Linked DNA regions of Homo sapiens: region 2 is linked to region 1. The links are contacts of gene promoters, found by promoter capture Hi-C in blood cells and fetal thymus (Javierre and others, 2016). All regions are on one chromosome and are shown on one strand. Each heading gives the region's core, a stretch centred on a gene start or on the middle of the fragment in contact. The rest is flanking DNA. Distances are from core to core; before and after follow the strand shown. Region 1 holds the start of CLGN (calmegin). Region 2 overlaps RNF150 (ring finger protein 150).

What was found. Contacts are between HindIII fragments. The CHiCAGO score rates a contact against its expected background, and 5 or more counts as called.
Region 2: a contact is called between a fragment that was not itself captured here and the fragment with the promoter of CLGN in region 1, in 1 of 17 cell types (M1 macrophages). The highest score is 5.7, in M1 macrophages.

The regions. Positions count from the first base shown.
Region 1 is chr4:140,426,173-140,429,211 of GRCh38, forward strand. It overlaps CLGN (calmegin), which reads right to left and starts at 1,476. Exons shown (of 15, transcript NM_004362.3): 1 at 1,365-1,476. RefSeq lists an enhancer at 633-682. The HindIII fragment of the contact is 13,619 bases long and covers 1-3,039 here.
Region 2 is chr4:140,888,625-140,891,713 of GRCh38, forward strand. The region is part of intron 6 of RNF150 (ring finger protein 150); the gene reads right to left. Among named protein-coding and RNA genes, the nearest start is that of TBC1D9, 130 kb to the left of the region's middle. The HindIII fragment of the contact is 257 bases long and covers 1,584-1,840 here.

The DNA of each region.
Region 1 (3,039 bases), core at 226-2,725:
GTTTCTAGTTTTATTATTAAAAAGACAAGTGATAAAAACTGCTGTGGGCCTGTTTTCTCATTTGTGACGTGAACTAGACAATCCAAAGATTCTTTAAAGTTCATAATTCTAGTTTTCTATTTAAAAACACCAGTATTTATTAGGTACTTAAAAAGTACTACAGCTAACTTACAACACTTCAATTTCTAGACAAATGCATCAACATACTTACATCATTTACACACAATAATTAACCTTATCAACTAGCTAAGACAGAGAGTACAGAATATCTTGTTCTGAGGATTTGGAGATGAGATCTAAATGTTACTGGAAGATCAAACCAATAAGACGTGAAGGCAAAACTCCAAACTGAAAACAGGTCAAACTTACAATGACCCAAAGGAGGGCTACCTCGAGTGATGTCGACATTTGTAAAACAAGCAAAATCATCAGATGAGATCGGGATTTTGCCTGCTTTTAAGCAACAAAAAGTTTATACGTTAATGAACTCTTTTCTAATTTGAGACTTCTTCCTGTGGCCACGTTATTTACCTTTTCTCTCCCAGTCCTGAGCTTTGGTTGCCATTTGCTTTTAACTCCCAAGCAAACACCTCCTCTTTGTTGCTTGGGCAGATGCTATAAATAAAATCAGCGAAAGTGTCTGATTGATGGTAAACAGGCCTGGGGCGATAATGAGTCTAGTAATTAGGGCCTCTCTGGATTCAACCCAGCCCTTTCGCCCGCCCCCCGGCGGCGCACAATGGGCTCTGCGCGGGTATCGAGGGAGCGGCCAACAGTCCCTGGCCCCACCGCCGTGAAGTGGGGTCCCTTCGCTTCCACATAGGTGGAGACTGAGACAGCCGAGCCTATTTTGATCTCGTTTGGGTTTCTGTAAGGAGCAGTCAGCAGAGTGAGCAGCGCCCAGACGCGCCCCGGGCCCCCTCTACAACCATTGGGAGAGCGCCCCGGGCTCAAGCGTGGAACGGGGCTGCAATGGCAACCGCTGGAATAACGGCCTCGGCTCCCGGTGGCTCCTCAAGCCCGCAGGGGAGGCCGGCCGGGCTAGGCACCTAGCTGTCCCCGTGCTCGTCCGCCCCAGCCCGGGCGCAGCAGGTGGATGCGGCGGTGCTGAAGACACAAAGGGTCCCAGGTGGCACCACCTCCTGCGTCCACCCACGGGGCCGCCAGAGCCCAGTCAAGACCCTAGCTCGCTGCAGCCCCATCGCCAGACTCAACATCCACCCTCACTTGGCCCCGACCGGTTCAGCCCTCTGGCGGCAAAGTAACGGGGTGCCTGGGGGAAGCAGCAACGACTCCGCTTCCTCACCCCAATCTGCGCGCAAAGGGCAGCGGGACAGCGGGAACGCGGCCTGCTGCTCACGCACCTCTCTTGCGGCCTGTTTTCGGCAGTGACAGCTCAGATGTCCAAGTCGTTGCCACTTGGTCCCCGCGTCTCTTCAGACCAGTCCCGCCGGCGGCCGCGCAGCAGCGACTACTAACCGCGCGTGCGCGTGCGGTGGCGGGCGGGAGGCGGTGGCGGCCCGAGGTGTGTGCTACGCGCTCCTGCTCCGAGGGGCTCAACCGCCTCCAGGGGGAGCCGCACATGGAGCCTGTGCCGCCGCCGGCCGGTTGTGGCCTGGACCCCGCTCCCGGGTTAGCCCAGGAGGAATTCCCCCTGCAAGTCCGAAGACTTTTCCTCCTCTGAGCTCCCGCCCTCTCTGCAGACCGTGCTACCTCCTGTTGCGCAATGATTGGGTCCTGAATTTTATGTAAATCATATTTATGAACAACGTCCAGTAATAAGTGCAGCAAGATTAGGGCTCTAGGTTTTCTCCAGAGTTCTAGATGTTAACAGATCTGCAGTCATGGTGATTAATAAGGAGCTTTCCTGTCTGGTGTGTGTATATGACAAATACAGATGCGTTAAGTGTTAATAAATACATTGTATATAAAACAATATGTTCTTTTTCTCTCGAACAACACTATTAATAAGAGCTGCTAACATTTATTGTGTTCATTGTGCTCTAAGGGGCTTACATTCATTGTTTAACCTTCGTGGCAACCCAGGTGATGAAACTGATGGCAACTTGCTCGAAGTTACACAACATGTAAACAGTGGAAACGGGATGTAAATCAGGCCTGTCTCTCTCAGAGCCTGTAGTTTCAAACACATTGAAATAAATCTTAGCATAAACGTAGTTTATGCTATGATTATGCAATCACAAGCTGCTTTGCCTTTTATATATTGGATCAATATTAATTTTACTACTTAATATTTTATAGTAAATCTTGACTTTGAATTTGGTATAACAATTTAATTTTATTGGAAGATTAATTAACAACATTTAATTGACTTGTGAGTCTAAGACCCTTGTTGAAGAGTTTCAATCTTAAGGGTTTGGTGGCATTCCGTGCACAACGTATCATTATTGGCTAGGGGTCAAGATCACTGAGTTTTTTCACATTGCTTCACTAATTAAGACCAGCATTTCTAAACTTTTGACTTTGTCATCTCTGGGAGAGTGTTTGGATAGTGTTAAAATTTACTGGTTAAAAAGACATTTTGTTTGAGATACTTTGTAACAATATTATACCCTTTATTTCTTTCTTCCGTCCTTCTGACTTCTATTATTCAACATACTTCTGTGGCCCATAACAAATACACTTGAACTGCTAGAGAGGGATTTTTTAAAGGATCCATTCAAAGTTTGCAGTGAGGAAGCTGAAAACTAAAAATGTAAGAATAGTGAATTTTTGCAAGATTTAGTAGTATCTTCTTGGTCACATAGTACTCAAAACCTTGAGAACATTTTTTTACTCTTTGGCTGCTACATTCACTGCCTCCATAAATTAAACTCTAACTCCATAAAATCATCTAAAAGAGGTCCTCACCCCCTCCAGTCCCTGTGCCATTTCTCTAGTTTAGATTCTCACTACTTTAGAAACTGTTGTTCAGAGTTACCTAACTAGTTGCCCCCCTTCAGAGCCTCCCACCTACACTTCGTAGTTTAATCCTCAGCTCATTCAATAGTTTCCAATGACCCTTCATTACCCACAGCA
Region 2 (3,089 bases), core at 462-2,961, 460 kb after region 1:
GCAAAAGGAATAAGGGGGACTGAGCTGAGCCTGACATTTGTCTTCCATTTTGCCCCTGCAGATGGAAACCACAGCTCATGTAGCAGTCTCTTGTGCTTTCTTCTTGTTTCCTTACTAGGCTGATAAAGCTGAAAGAGACTTAGAGATTATTTACTCAATAATTCTCTCAACCAAATAAGATAATGAATATAAAGCATTCATCCCTATTTCTGGCTCAAAGAAATCCTTAATAAAAAGTAGGCTATTGGTGATCATGATAAAGTTGAAGCTATTTAGTTGTTCATGATTATATTAACCCATCCCATTCACTTCATACGAAGGAGATAGATAAGAAACCCAGCATCTCATGTTGGTTGAATGGGATAATATTTACTATGTCAGTGCTGAGATTGGGTCTTCTAACTCTTTAAACAGTTTGTTTTTTTTTTTAAATGAAAAAATAGAGATGGGGTCTTGCTGTGTTGCCCAGGGTGGTCTGAAACTCCTGGGCTCAAGCAATCCTCCTGCCTCAGCCTCTCGAAGTGCTGGGATTACAGACATGAGCCACTGTGCCTGGCTTAAACAATTCATTTAAACGATTTATTTTCCCTTCTGGAGCAGATTCTCAAACTTCTTTTTAAAAGAGTCACATTCCCTTTTGATAAAATTAAAAATCTTATCCCTCCTGGTGAAGGTTTGACACCTCTATTCTCACACCTTTCAGAAGTACTGTGATTTTTCCTGAATCCTTACCTATCAGGAAGATTTTGTTGAATTCTGGAGTTGGTATTTTAAAAAATAATTTGCATTTTTTGTTTCCCACTTATAAAACCAAGTCATTACTTTATGTGATGTTTTTCTATACACATTCCTCCTAACCCCAATCATTGATTCAAAAGTTTGCAATCCCTAAATGCTTCATCTGGGTTTGGTACCTCTTTAAAAATCTCATGCTACTCTGAAGCAGAATTTTTTTTGGTGGGCGGAAAGAGAGATTTTTAAATGCTACAAAGGTACAGGGAATAATATAGTAAACCAAACTGCGGTGTCTCCATCACTAAGTGTCAATGCTTAATGATATTTAGGTCTCTGTCCAATGTCACTTTCTCAGATAAGCCCTCCTTGATTGCCTGCCCTAATTAATAGTCCCTGGTCATTCTCTAACTCCTTACTTGGCCTCATTTTCATTTTATTTTTGATAATTGAATCCTGACATTATATTCTATATTTCTTATCTTATTCAATAGGATGTAATCTCCATGAAGTCAGGAACTGCCTGCATTGCCCCAAGATTCCCCAGCATAGAAAGGAGGATCTGAATTTTACTAGGCTCTGAATAAATTTTTATTGAATGAATGATGTTTCATTTAAGCCTGCCTTTTTAATTAAGGCAAAACAAAAAACAAATAAAAACCCCCACATTAGCTCCTTTTGTGTCTCACCACTAGTTTCATATCCCCAACACAGCAACCACCACTCTGATTTGATATGAATTCTTCCAGTATCTTTCATGCAAATCAGTGTGTGTGTATGTGTGCAGGTAACAAAAAAATCAATGTACAAGTTACATAATGTTTTGTGTTAGCATTTTTTATACGAAAGAAAGCTTGCTATTTGTGTTATCCTGCAATTTACTTATTTTTCCTTATCTTGTTTTCAGATTTAATTCGTTATGTATTTAATTCTTGTTAACTGCTACAAAAAAAACTAGTCCATCTAAGAATATGCTATAGTTTATTCGTCCTTTCCCCAACAGAGAAACCTTTAGGTTATTTACAATATTTTTCACTATTATAACAATTTTTCCCTGTACATGTGTTGTGTGCTAAATGTTTCTGTTCCCCCAAATTCATATGTTGAAAGCTTAAACCCCAATATAATGATATTAGAAGGTGGGGGTTTGGGGAGGTAATTAGGTTTAGATGTGGTTATGAGGTTGGGGTGCCCATGATAGGATTAGTGTTCTTATAAGAAAAAGACTGGAGTTCACTCTCTCATCTCACCACTGAGGACACAGAGAGACAGCAGCCATCTTCAAGCCAGGAAGAGGTATCTCACTAGAAGTCAACCATGCAGCCATCCTGATCTTGGACTTCCCAGACTCCCGAACTGTGAGAAATAAATGTCTGTTCTTTAAGCCACCAGGTCTATGTTATTTGATGATAGCAGCCTGATAGACTAATACAATGTATCTTTTAGCAAGTTCTCCAAAAATGTTAGTTTCCTTTTCCCTGCCTTCTTTTCAGAGCTAAGAATACAAAATCACTTGCTTCTCCTAGGAAGGGACCTTTTGAGGAGTTTAATGCAGCTTCCAGATGCTACCACTTGTTTTGGCTTTCCAGAAAATAAGTGTCAAATTAATAAGAGAAATGAAGAGGTGTAAAGTACCATTTTAAATCACTGATCTCACTAAAGGTTAACTATAATGATAGCTAGTCACCTGTCTGCACCTATTATTATATTCCATGCTCATGGCAGGTGGCAATGAAGGTGGGATGTGTGAGTAGGAATAGCACTGGTAGAAAATGATAGATTTGGCCAAGAATTGTTCTAACACACTTTTTTTTATAACAGTGGCTATTATAATTTTATCACCATCATCACCATCCATTATATTTGATTTAGTTTCCAATGTTCTTGAACACATTTGAGCCCATTTTACAGCAGGCTACCTAACTTTCAGAAAGGCTATAGTTCTCTCAAAGTCTCAGAAAGAGCCAGTAGTAAGTGGCAGAACTAGGACTTGAACCTAGCTCTTCTGTTCTTGCTCCAGTAGGTTTCACGGTGCTCCATGAAGTCATACAGGTCCACAGAGCACCCCAAGGACCACTGTGGGAGGAACTGGGAAGGCTGGACAGTGGTGGAAAATGATAGTGGTGATGAGAAAATTGACAATAATAACTGCAACAAGCCCAGCTGAGACAGTTCTTTCCAAACTCCTCCATTCCTCCCCCTCCTTTAGCATTTAGCACAGTTGTCCTTCCGTATCCAGTATTCGTGGGGGATTGGTACCAGGACACTGCCCCCTATCAAAATCTGAGGATGCCCAAGTTCCTTATATAAAATGGTGTAGAATCTGCATATAATCTATGCACATCCTTTTGTATATT